Regions from separate parts of the Homo sapiens genome. Here all the other regions are linked to region 1. Evidence: promoter capture Hi-C in 16 types of primary human blood cells and fetal thymus (Javierre and others, 2016). All regions are on one chromosome and are shown on one strand. The core of a region is centred on a gene start or on the middle of the fragment in contact, and the rest is flanking DNA. Distances in the headings are between cores, read along the strand shown. Region 1 holds the start of AKAP10 (A-kinase anchoring protein 10). Region 2 overlaps SPECC1 (sperm antigen with calponin homology and coiled-coil domains 1). Region 3 overlaps SPECC1 (sperm antigen with calponin homology and coiled-coil domains 1). Region 4 overlaps SPECC1 (sperm antigen with calponin homology and coiled-coil domains 1).

The links. Contacts are between HindIII fragments. The CHiCAGO score rates a contact against its expected background, and 5 or more counts as called.
Region 2: a contact is called between a fragment that was not itself captured here and the fragment with the promoter of AKAP10 in region 1, in 12 of 17 cell types (monocytes, M2 macrophages, M1 macrophages and 9 more). The highest score is 13.3, in monocytes.
Region 3: a fragment that was not itself captured here is called in contact with the fragment with the promoter of AKAP10 in region 1 in 1 of 17 cell types (M2 macrophages); the score reaches 5.0 in M2 macrophages.
Region 4: a contact is called between a fragment that was not itself captured here and the fragment with the promoter of AKAP10 in region 1, in 8 of 17 cell types (M2 macrophages, megakaryocytes, M1 macrophages and 5 more). The highest score is 9.0, in M2 macrophages.

Annotation. Positions count from the first base shown.
Region 1 is chr17:19,976,377-19,979,163 of GRCh38, reverse strand. It overlaps AKAP10 (A-kinase anchoring protein 10), which reads left to right and starts at 1,336. Exons shown (of 15, transcript NM_007202.4): 1 at 1,336-1,572. The coding sequence starts at 1,485. RefSeq lists an enhancer at 253-966 and a silencer at 1,439-1,628. The HindIII fragment of the contact is 5,200 bases long and covers 1-2,787 here.
Region 2 is chr17:20,278,698-20,281,484 of GRCh38, reverse strand. The region is part of intron 12 of SPECC1 (sperm antigen with calponin homology and coiled-coil domains 1); the gene reads right to left. Among named protein-coding and RNA genes, the nearest start is that of FAM106B, 140 kb to the left of the region's middle. The HindIII fragment of the contact is 8,101 bases long and covers 1-2,787 here.
Region 3 is chr17:20,260,624-20,263,410 of GRCh38, reverse strand. All of the region lies in intron 12 of SPECC1 (sperm antigen with calponin homology and coiled-coil domains 1), which reads right to left. Among named protein-coding and RNA genes, the nearest start is that of FAM106B, 160 kb to the left of the region's middle. The HindIII fragment of the contact is 1,242 bases long and covers 734-1,975 here.
Region 4 is chr17:20,240,031-20,242,817 of GRCh38, reverse strand. The region is part of intron 7 of SPECC1 (sperm antigen with calponin homology and coiled-coil domains 1); the gene reads right to left. Among named protein-coding and RNA genes, the nearest start is that of FAM106B, 180 kb to the left of the region's middle. The HindIII fragment of the contact is 6,498 bases long and covers 1-2,787 here.

The sequences.
Region 1 (2,787 bases), core at 87-2,586:
AGCCTATGCCCCTTCCTTATTTGGAAATGTTATTGCTTCCTTAAACCTTTCGGTAAGCAACTTCCTCTCCTTCTTCGTTCTTCCTTGCACTTACCTATTTAGAAAGTTTTAGGCTATTAGCAAATCGGCTATCAGTTTAAGAGTGTGAGGTCCCGCTCCAGCCAATGGATGCAGGACATAGCAGTGAGGACGACCCAAATGCGTAAGGGATAAATATGTTTGCTTTTCCTTTGTTCAGGTGTGCTCTCGACATCGTTCCATCTGCGATTGAGCACCCTTTCTGCAGAAAGTAAAGATTGCCTTGCTGGAGATCTTTTGTCTCCGTGCTGACTTTTCTTCGTGGCACCGATTATCTATTTCTAACAATTTTGGTATTTCTAACATTCTGAACAATCTTGGGCTAGTTGTCTCTTCTGGGCCTGTTTCCCCATCCGTCACATGATAAACTTCATTGGTTTAAAAACCCCAGCGAACATTTATTGAGTTACTATTACCTTCCTGCCCTCCCCAACCCCAACCCCAGGGAGCAGTTACAACCTCAGCCGCTGAGCGCACTCGCCGGGTGTTAAGAAGCACCAAAGACAGGGAGGCTTGATTGATTTTGCTTTGGGAGTAGAGGGTCAGAAGATTCACAGGAAAATGGCATTTGAGCAAGGATGATTCACTGGAGCTAGCTTTTAAATACTGGCGAGGCTTTTATGTTGCAGTCCCTTACAAAGTTGAGCATTCGCAGGGACTGCACTCCGAAATAAGCCCGCTTCCCCTTTTCATTCGCTAATGATCCAGGGAGCTGCTGGTTCCGCATGCGGCAGGTTGTGCCTTTTCCTAATCAGGGTTCTGCATCGCCTCGAACCCGCAGGCCGTGGCGGGTTCTCCTGAGGAAGCAGGGACTGGGGTGCAGGGTGAAGCTGCTCGTGCCGGCCAGCGCCTGTGAGCAAAACTCAAACGGAGGAGCAGGAGGGGTCGAGCTGGAGCGTGGCAGGGTTGACCCTGCCTTTTAGAAGGGCACAATTTGAAGGGTACCCAGGGGCCGGAAGCCGGGGACCTAAGGCCCGCCCCGTTCCAGCTGCTGGGAGGGCTCCCGCCCCAGGGAGTTAGTTTTGCAGAGACTGGGTCTGCAGCGCTCCACCGGGGGCCGGCGACAGACGCCACAAAACAGCTGCAGGAACGGTGGCTCGCTCCAGGCACCCAGGGCCCGGGAAAGAGGCGCGGGTAGCACGCGCGGGTCACGTGGGCGATGCGGGCGTGCGCCCCTGCACCCGCGGGAGGGGGATGGGGAAAAGGGGCGGGGCCGGCGCTTGACCTCCCGTGAAGCCTAGCGCGGGGAAGGACCGGAACTCCGGGCGGGCGGCTTGTTGATAATATGGCGGCTGGAGCTGCCTGGGCATCCCGAGGAGGCGGTGGGGCCCACTCCCGGAAGAAGGGTCCCTTTTCGCGCTAGTGCAGCGGCCCCTCTGGACCCGGAAGTCCGGGCCGGTTGCTGAATGAGGGGAGCCGGGCCCTCCCCGCGCCAGTCCCCCCGCACCCTCCGTCCCGACCCGGGCCCCGCCATGTCCTTCTTCCGGCGGAAAGGTAGCTGAGGGGGCGCCGGCGGGGAGTCAGGCCGGGCCTCAGGGGCGGCGGTGGGGCAGGTGGGCCTGCGAGGGCTTTCCCCAAGGCGGCAGCAAGGCCTTCAGCGAGCCTCGACCTCGGCGCAGATGCCCCCTGAGTGCCTTGCTCTGCTCCGGGACTCTTCTGGGAGGGAGAAGGTGGCCTTCTTGCGCGAGGTCAGAGGAGTATTGTCGCGCTGGTTCAGAAGCGATTGCTAAAGCCCATAGAAGTTCCTGCCTGTTTGGTTAAGAACAGTTCTTAGGTGGGGGTTAGTTTTTTTGTGTTTCTTTGAGGACCGTGGATCAAGATCAAGGAAATCTCTTTAGAACCTTATTATGGAAGTCTGAAGTTTCCAAATGTTGAGGGTTTTATGTCTAAAAGCAACACGTGAAAAAATTGTTTTCTTCACCCAGTGCTGTCTTCCAATTTCCTCTTTGGGGGGAGGGGTAGTTACTGCTGTTACTAAAATAAAATTACTTATTGCTAAAGTTCCCCAACAGGAAGACCACTACTTTTGATGACTTTGGCAAGTTTGCTAACTACTGGAACCCTAACTTACAAACGAACTACTTACATTTTTGATTTCCAGTTGTATTACCTGCCCAATGTTTACGTAGAAACAGCTTAATTTTGATTCTGGGTAACGTTGTTGCACTTCATTAAAAATACATATCCGAAGTGAGCAAGTATGGGTCTGTGGACAGCAGTGATTTTTCCTGTCAATTCCTGTTGCTTCAGATAAAATGTACCAGACAGAGGCCGGGCGCGGTGGCTCACGCCTGTAATCCCAGCACTTTGGGAGGCTTGGCGGGTGGATCACCTGAGATCGGGAGTTCAAGACCAGCCTGACCAACATGGAGAAACCCCGTGTCTACTAAAAATACAAAATTAGCCAGGGTGGTGGCGCATGCCTGTAATGCCAGCTACTTGGGAGGCTGAAGCAGGAGAATCGCTTGAACCTGGGAGGCGGAGGTTGCGGTGAGCCGAGATAGCACCATTGCACTCCAGCCTGGGCAAAAAGAGCGAAACTCCGTCTCAAAAAAAAAGTACCAGACAGAAATGGGTTTTGTTTTCTTTTTTTGTTTTGAGACGGAGTTTCGCTCTTGTTGCCCAGGCTCGAGTGCAATGGCGCGATCTCAGTCTCGGCTCACTGCAACCTCTGTCTCCCAGGTTTAATCGATTCTCCTGCCTCAGCCT
Region 2 (2,787 bases), core at 179-2,678, 300 kb before region 1:
GAGGAGTACACCGCAGGGAAGCATGGTCCTACCATGGTTCACCCATGCTGTGGTGCAGGCAGGCAGGACAGCCTGAGCCTGGGGTGTGCAGGAGGCAGGATGAACTCTGGGGCTTCAGGAAAGGGCGAGCCACTGCAAGATTCCTCATGGAGTTCTGGGAGCCCAGGAGACAAAAGTCTGGTTCTTTCTTTCTTTTATAGTAAGTCCTCACTTAATGTTGGGAGGTTCTTGGACACTGTAACATTAAGTGAAATGGTGACACGCTGTATAACAAAACCAGTTTCACCGCAGGCTAATTGACATGGGCCAGAGTTGAGTTCCCATGGCTTACAGCACATGGTTTCACCCAAAGCCGCCATTTCCAGGAACCGACCGGCCATGCTAAGAACTGAGCTGACATCAGATTGAATGAAGCCCCTGGCAAACGAGAATGTCCGATGCTCTAAAGAGGAACAAACCAAACCAAACTGTGACCCGCTCCTTCCTCCTCACACTAACGCAGCTGAATATGACTTTAGGAAAGTGACTCAACTTTTCTGCCTTAAGTTTCCTCATCTCTCAAATGAAGTGGCTAGATTAAATTAGTGGTTCTGAAATAAACAGTTATGAAACCCGTTCTTCCAATGATGCTTCTGCAGAAGGTTTTTTAAAAGTAGGGATTGCAAACCACAAAATCCGGTGATCTTTTCTTTAACATCCATCTGTCTATATTCTACCTTGCATTGCCCCATACGACAGCCACCAGCCCCATGTGGCTGTTTAAATTAGTTAAAATTAAATAATATCAAAATTCCATTTCTCAGTCACATTAGGAATCTTTTAAGTGCTCAGCAGCCACCTGTGGCTACAGGATTGGCCAGCACAGATATAGAACATTCCCATCATCACAGAGGGTTCTACAGGACAGTGCTGTCTTGCACTTATGCAAACATGCATGTGTATTTCCCCCTTTTATGCAGATGGTGGCATGTTCTGCACCCTTACCAAGATATATAGAGCTAGGTCCTTCACGACATCTGGATGAACAGTTTCAGTGTAGAGACCAAGGGACTGGATGCTGGGCCCAACAGCAGGAGTTCAGTCCCAGCTCTATCCCTTACTAGGGTGTGACTCTGAGCAGTCATGGAGCCTCTTGCTGCCTTAGTTTTGTATTTGTAAAATGGATACAAAATGCCTAACTCATGAGATTGTGGTCAAGATTAGATGCACTTAGACAATGTCGGTCACGTGGTAAATATTTTGTCACTGCTAGCTTTACTTCCATCACCATTCGCTACTTTGTTCTCTGACGACACATGCAGGTCCATCACATGGATGGAGACAGCAGCCCGTTTAGGTTGTTTCCAGTTTTCTGTTATCACAAACAGTACTGCGATAATTGTCCTCCCATGCACCTCTCTGCACACAGGTGGAATCCATTTTGATGGATTCTGCCAAATTGCCCTCAAAGAGGTTCTTCCACCTTAAACTCCACCTCCCAACAACACACATGCGACTATGTTCCTCCACCACACAGCACGTGCCCTTTGGTGATGGGCTGATTTCACTCACTGAAGCATCCTCAGACCCATCTGTGTTGCAGCGTGTGTCAGCCACTCTGCTTCTGCATCCATCTGTCCACCTTCTCCTCTCCATATCCCAACCCCCATCCTAGTTCAGGAGTTGTGGTCTTCCTCATGTCTTCCAAAACCACAGCTCTGGCTGGGAGACCACCTGTCACCATGGTTTTTAAACCCTTTCTGACTCTGTAGTCAGCAGAATTAGAATTGTACTAAGAAAATAATATGCAATAACTGAAAAATTGATTATAAGGAATTTTGTTCCAAGATCAAGTTTAGTTTATACTAGAAAAGTAACCTTCAAGGCTGGGCGCGGTGGCTCATACCTGTAATCCCAACACTTTGGGAGGCCAAGGCAGGCGGATCACCTGAGGTCGGGAGTTCAAGATCAGCCTGACCAACATGGAGAAACCCTTTCTCTACTAAAAATACAAAATTAGCCGGGCATGGTGGCGCATGCCTGCAATCCCAGCTACTCGGGAGGCTGAGGCAGGAGAATCGCTTGAACCCAGGGGGCAGAGGTTGCAGTGAGCTGAGATCGCACCATTGCACTCCAGCCTGGGCAACAAGGGAGAAACTCCATCTCAGAAAAAAAAAAAAAAGAAAAAAAAAAAAAGAAAGAAAAGTAACCTTCAACTCCGTTAACCTTCTACCCTCAGAAAGACTGAATTCAGCCTGTGAAATCATAAGTGTCTTGCCATGAAATTACTTCTTTTTCCCAAATGAACATTTCACGAGTAAGAGAATGGAAAAAATGCTCAGTGCAGATTCACCTGGGACTGTGATTATCTAAATAGACTCACATGCTGTCCTGGGGGATGGAGAAGGAACAGCAGCAAAAATCAAGGCCTCCTTTTTCTGAATGGTGACAAGATGATGGCTTTGGTGTTGGGCAGTGTTATGCTGCAGCAGCAGCTGCTGGCATACTTGACCCATGGAGGCCCTCAGCTGGGGACAAACAGCCCATGGGAGGAAAGAAGACCAAGGGACTTAAATCACCCTCAGTCCCCAGGAGGATGACACATTCTTATAACATTTTATTTTGAAAATCCTGTTTTTCCTTCCTGAAGCTGGCAAAACATCTAACATTTATATAAAAAATTTTAAAGTGTAAATTGGCAGTTTTGATGCAGATGCTTCCTTCAAATGACCCTGGGAAGTCAGAAGACGAGGCTAACTCATGGTAAGAACCTTTAAAAAAAAAAAGAGAGAGAGAGAGAGAGAGACA
Region 3 (2,787 bases), core at 105-2,604, 280 kb before region 1:
GTATATCTCCTAATGCTATCCTTCCCCCCTCCCCCCACCCCACAACAGGCCCCCGTGTGTGATGTTCCCCTTCCTGTGTCCAAGTGTTCACATTGTTCAACTGCCATGAAGGAAGGCCCCTTGGTTACAGCCTCCCCAGCCCATCAGTCACGCTGCCAAGGACACAGGAAAGAATAAGAAGTCATAGCTATTGGTTCTTATGGCTTCTTATTCTTTCCCGTGTCCTCGGCAGCGTGGCTGATGGGCTGGGGGAGGCTGTAACCAAGAGGCCTTCCTTCATGGCATGGTCCATCCTTGAAACAGGGCAGAGGCAGAGTGGACAGGGTAGCAGGAAGAATAAACAAGGGTCTGAGGCGAGTTTATACTTTGGGAGCCTCTATTATTGGTCAGTAGCATGACAGGTTTTTCTTTTCTTTTTTCTGACCCACACTGCACTACAGTGGTGCTATCTCAGCTCACTGCAGCCTCAAACTCCTGGGCGCAAACAATCCTGCCCCCTCGGCCTCTCAAAGTGCTGCGATTCTTTTTCTTTTTTAACATAAAGTGAAAAGAAGGTAATGGCAAAGATACAGGATACACATACTCTGGGTAGATTCTGGTTTTAAGACATCTGACTGCTGACATGACAGAGACTCCCAGCCCTGCTAATTTACTATCTGGGATGGATCTTGGCTGAGGCTGGGTTTTTCTTGCTAGCTTCTTTCATTTTCCATCCCCACCTCCCTCAAAAGCTTCAGCCTGGGAAGGGAGTATTACGGTGCTGGAATCTTCCGAAATTTTAGCAAAATATTGTTAAGAATGCAGTAGGAATTGCCAATTTTAAAGAGGGTATCTATTTGCATATGAAAAGGTGTTCAGCCTCCCCAGCCAACAGGAAAATGCAAACCAAAACCACAGTGAGACAGTACTACACATTACCCACATGACCTTGAGTAAAAAGACTGACAATACCAAGTGTTGATGTGAATGCAGAGAAATAAATCTCTCATAAATTGCTGGAGAGACATAAATTATACAATTACTTCAGTCATCTGTTTGGCACTATCCACTAGATTGTATGCATACCCTATGGCCCAGGAATTCCATTCTTAAGCATGTATCCAGCAGGAATGAGCACATATGTTTTTCAGGAAATACGCACAAGAACATAACAGCGTTATTCATAATAGCTCCAAACTAGAAATGACTCAACTCTCCATCAATAATCGAATGGATAAATAATGGTATAATCCTACAATGGGTTACTAAATGGTGAAGAAAATGAACAAATTACAGCTATATGCAACAATGAGGATAAATCTCACTGACTCAATACCGTGTAAAAAAAGCTAGCTGCAAATATTACATAGTTTTTTATTCCATTTGTAATAAAATTCAAATGCAAGCAATACTAACATAGTACTTACGGATGCATACTTTTGTAAAAATCTGGAAGGAGAATTGAGGACAATGGTTATCTTAGGGAGTACTGAGGGCTATGATGGGAAAGTCATAGGAAGGGTCTGTGGGAGCTGGTGATGCTCCTCTTCTGGATGGGAGTGGTGACTGCATGACTTTTCACTTCCTCACAGTTCAAGAAATTATGATTTATATTTTGTGCATTTTATCTTTGTGTATTTCACAAGAAAAAAACTTAAACTTACATCAGGTATTACTTCCCTTTTCTGATATTCACAGAAAACAGATACTGTCCTAGAAAACAAAAACTCTTAAACTAAACGCAAACAATTCTCAAAACAATAGAAACAAAATGTTTGGAGAAGTTTTGGAGGCCCAACTACATAGGACCTTTATGCGAATTAGGCAAAGCACTCTTCTTCAGGAGGGTAATTCAGCAAAAGCTGTCTTCTTGGGTGGAGGCATCACTGCTCGGGGAGCTTGTGTCTGCTTTTTTTTTTTTTTTTTTTTTGAGACGGAGTCTTGCTCTGTCGCCCAGCCTGGAGTGCAGTGGCGCAATCTTGGCTCACTGCAAGCTTCGCCTCCCGGGTTCACACCATTCTCCTGCCTCAGCCTCCCGAGTAGCTGTGACTACAGGCGCCCGCCACCACGCCCGGCTAATTTTTTGTATTTTTAGTAGAGATGGGGTTTCACTGTGTTAGCCAGGATGGTCTCGATCTCCTGACCTCGTGATCTGCCCACCTCGGCCTCCCAAAGTGCTAGGATTACAGGCGTGAGCCACTGGAGCTTGTGTCTTCTTCTGAGACAGCAGGGACAGGACTTGGCTTCAGCTCATCCCCACTATAGCATTCTTTCATGCATTCCCACTGATCACAAAACCCACACCACTACTTCACTGACATACCTGCTTAACAGTCATGCAAAGAAAATAGCCATACTGTTTTTCCGCACTCTCATAATGTTTAAAAGAATAAAAGAATGTTTAATTCTTTTACTTAAATAATTCCAGAAACTGGCCCTAGGAAATCCAACATATCCAACCAAAGTTGCAAATGTCCTCATCTCAGGGAAGAATGCTAAACAACTGATTTACAGCCTTGCTGCCACCAACCAGAACACTAGGTGGCCCATGACTCAAGACAACCGTCGCCAGCAGATAAACTGACCCACATCCCCTACCCCTCATATGATCTACCCAGCCCAGCCCACATTCTCTATGTTGATATCAATTCCTGCACTTTGCTTAATAAAAAAATCCCTACCAGCTCATTTCAAGGAGTCAGCCAGAGAATCCTCCCTCTCCCGTGCTTCCTCCCTCATGCCTGAGGGATAAGGGCATAAGCTCCAATAAAGCCTTGTTGAGAAAACTCTTTTGGCCTCATGACAATT
Region 4 (2,787 bases), core at 202-2,701, 260 kb before region 1:
ATTTTCAACAAAACTAGATATTATTATCCCTTATTTTAGAGGAAAATTTGACCATGGTCACATGATTCATGAATGGTGAAACTGGGGTGCAAATCCAGCTCTGGCCACGCATTTCTCAAATTTTCTATAATGCATAAATGTTCTGTGAGAGATATACAAGGTTCTAGAAATAATACTGATGGTATTTCTTCCTAAATTTTAAGTACATTTAAAAAATACTACCAAGTTATTTCAGTGTTCCTATCTTTATACAATAATCTGCTCTTAAAAGGCGGCAACCCATACTAGAGAACAACAGTTGCAGGCCAGATACTAGAGAACAACAGTTGCAGGCCAGACCGCCTGATGCTGTGTCACACACAGCAGGTGATGCACACTCCATAAGCAGACAGTGTCTCCATGGAGCACAGCAAGGCACATGGCCCTCCTCACTGAATGTCGGTCTGCCTTCCATGCCTCACCTTGTCATTTAAGCACATATACATACATGTCTCTAATTATTTCCCTTTAAAACTTTTATTTAACCTCTCTAATTTGCTGCTTTCCTTGTTATGTTAGAGAACAGAGTTTTCAAATGTCAGTCATGGTCTACAGCATTTACTTCCTAAAAACAGCACTTTATGTCATTGTTCATTCTGATCCAGGAACAGGTGAGCTCCTGTACATGATGATTTTTAAAGTATTCAAAGGTTAACTCCATTTGGGTAGTGTTGTATGGCACCACTGCTACCTTCACAATTGGCAGATTAATATTTGTGAAGAGGGCGGGTCGCATGTCAACCACATGCTCACGCCTGCCGGTCTCTTTACTGAACACCTGAACAAAGCCCAACCCCAGGTCTTTCAGTTAATCTCCCAAGACTCCCCTCTGCCCATCTAGTTTTGGACTATTCACCTGAAGTTTTTTACTTTTATGCCCTGCCTCTGTGCCTTTGCTCATTCTATGCCCTTGCCTGGAATGTAATTTTTTCTAAATACTTATTTTGCATAAAACAAATCTAACAGAAGTTTTTCACTCTATTTGAAGACAGAAATTATGAAGTACTTTGTCTCTTAGGTGTCAAACAATATCTTCTAAATTTCACTTTCAAATTTCAGTAAAAGCATATATAACAATAAAAACAAACAGGATAAGAAAGTAATTTGAACACCAGCATCATAATCTACAAATCCCAACAATAAGAATCAAATAGTAAAAGTCCTGTAGTCGAGTATCATTGACGTGGCTTAGATTCTGAAGAATTTCTGCTAATAGAGAGTACACGGTCGGGGGAATGAAAATACAATACCAAGGGCTTTCCCTCAATTCCCTTCCAAAGAAAATGGAGATATGGGAAAACCCCAACTAATGTCCCCCACCCTAGAGGGCCAAGGCTGGAGAGGAGCATGAGAAGCCCAGAGAGATGCACGGCGTTTTGGCAAAGGATCAGGAACAAGAAGAATTTACATCCGAGAAGGCCAAGGTTGGTTTACCCTAGGCATAAAGGGCAGTAGTGACAAGGGGCAGGATAGGAAGAGCCACAGTGTGCACCTAAAATGGATGAGGGGCACGCAAAGAGATCCAGAGAGCTGGCTCTGCGTTCCAGGCTCACCAGGCAGAGAAGAAACTGGGTACAGGTGAATTTCCCAACTAGGCACTCACCCTTCTCTACTCTACCTGGGCTTCTGTACCTCCAAGTATGTAATACAAATGTACCTTCAAGAGCCTCCCAACACGTTTAAGTCATGAGAAGAAGATCAGAAGCACTGTCAGGCAAAGGCAGTGGATCTGAGCAGAATTCAGACACGGACCTGGGGCAAACGTCAGGCCCTGCCACACCTGGATCTGCTTCAGCAAGAGAAGGTGACAGGCAAAATCATGCCCTGCTCGATGCAAACAGTTCATAATACAAAGTGAAGGGGAAACTGCACTCAAGAGAGGACTGGCGTTTGTAAATTCATGACTGGAAACAGAGTTCAACACTGATACTGTCTGCCTTAAAATTCAATAAAATAAAAATTTTAAATGAAAGGATGAGTTAAAAGTAATATAAGCAATCTAATAATCTATGAATATTTTAAAGCAGAGCTAACTCAAAAGAGAAAGAAATGGGAGCACATCTAGGGCAGGTCTCTCTGAATGTGGATGACATAAACCATGTAAAGGTGGGATTTCAATTCAGTGGACAAAGGATGACTCTGGTAATAAACAGTGCTACCCAGTGGGAGAAAAAGAACCACACCTCACATCAGATTAAATAAAGAGAGGTGGATCAAATGGCCTGCATATGTGTGTGCATCAAGTAGATGAAGACATTTAATAGCACATTTGTATAATACTGGGGAGAAGGAATCTTAAAAAAAAGAGTAAAGGAAAACACTAACAGTTTACATAAAAATATAAAATTTTCTATGATAAAGATAAAGCCATATCACATGAAAAATATGATAAAGGCTCATAATATAGGGGATACAACCGTATCCCTAATAAAATACTGACTTATAAGCTGATGAGAAAAAAACAATCAGCTCAGTGAAAAAGCAGGGAAAAGTTGCAAAACTAGTAATTCTTAGAAGAGAAAATGCAGTGGTTAGTAAACATACAAAGATGTGCTTAGAAAGGGCTGGGCATGGTGGCTCATGGCTGTAATCCCTGCACTTTGGGAGGCTGAGTTGGGAGGATCACTTGAGCCCAGGAGTTCGATACCAGTCTCTCTGTGCAACACAGTGAGACCTCGTGTCTACCAAAAAAAAAAAAAAAAAAAAAAAAAAAAAAAATTAGCTGGACATGGTGGTGTGCCCCTGTAG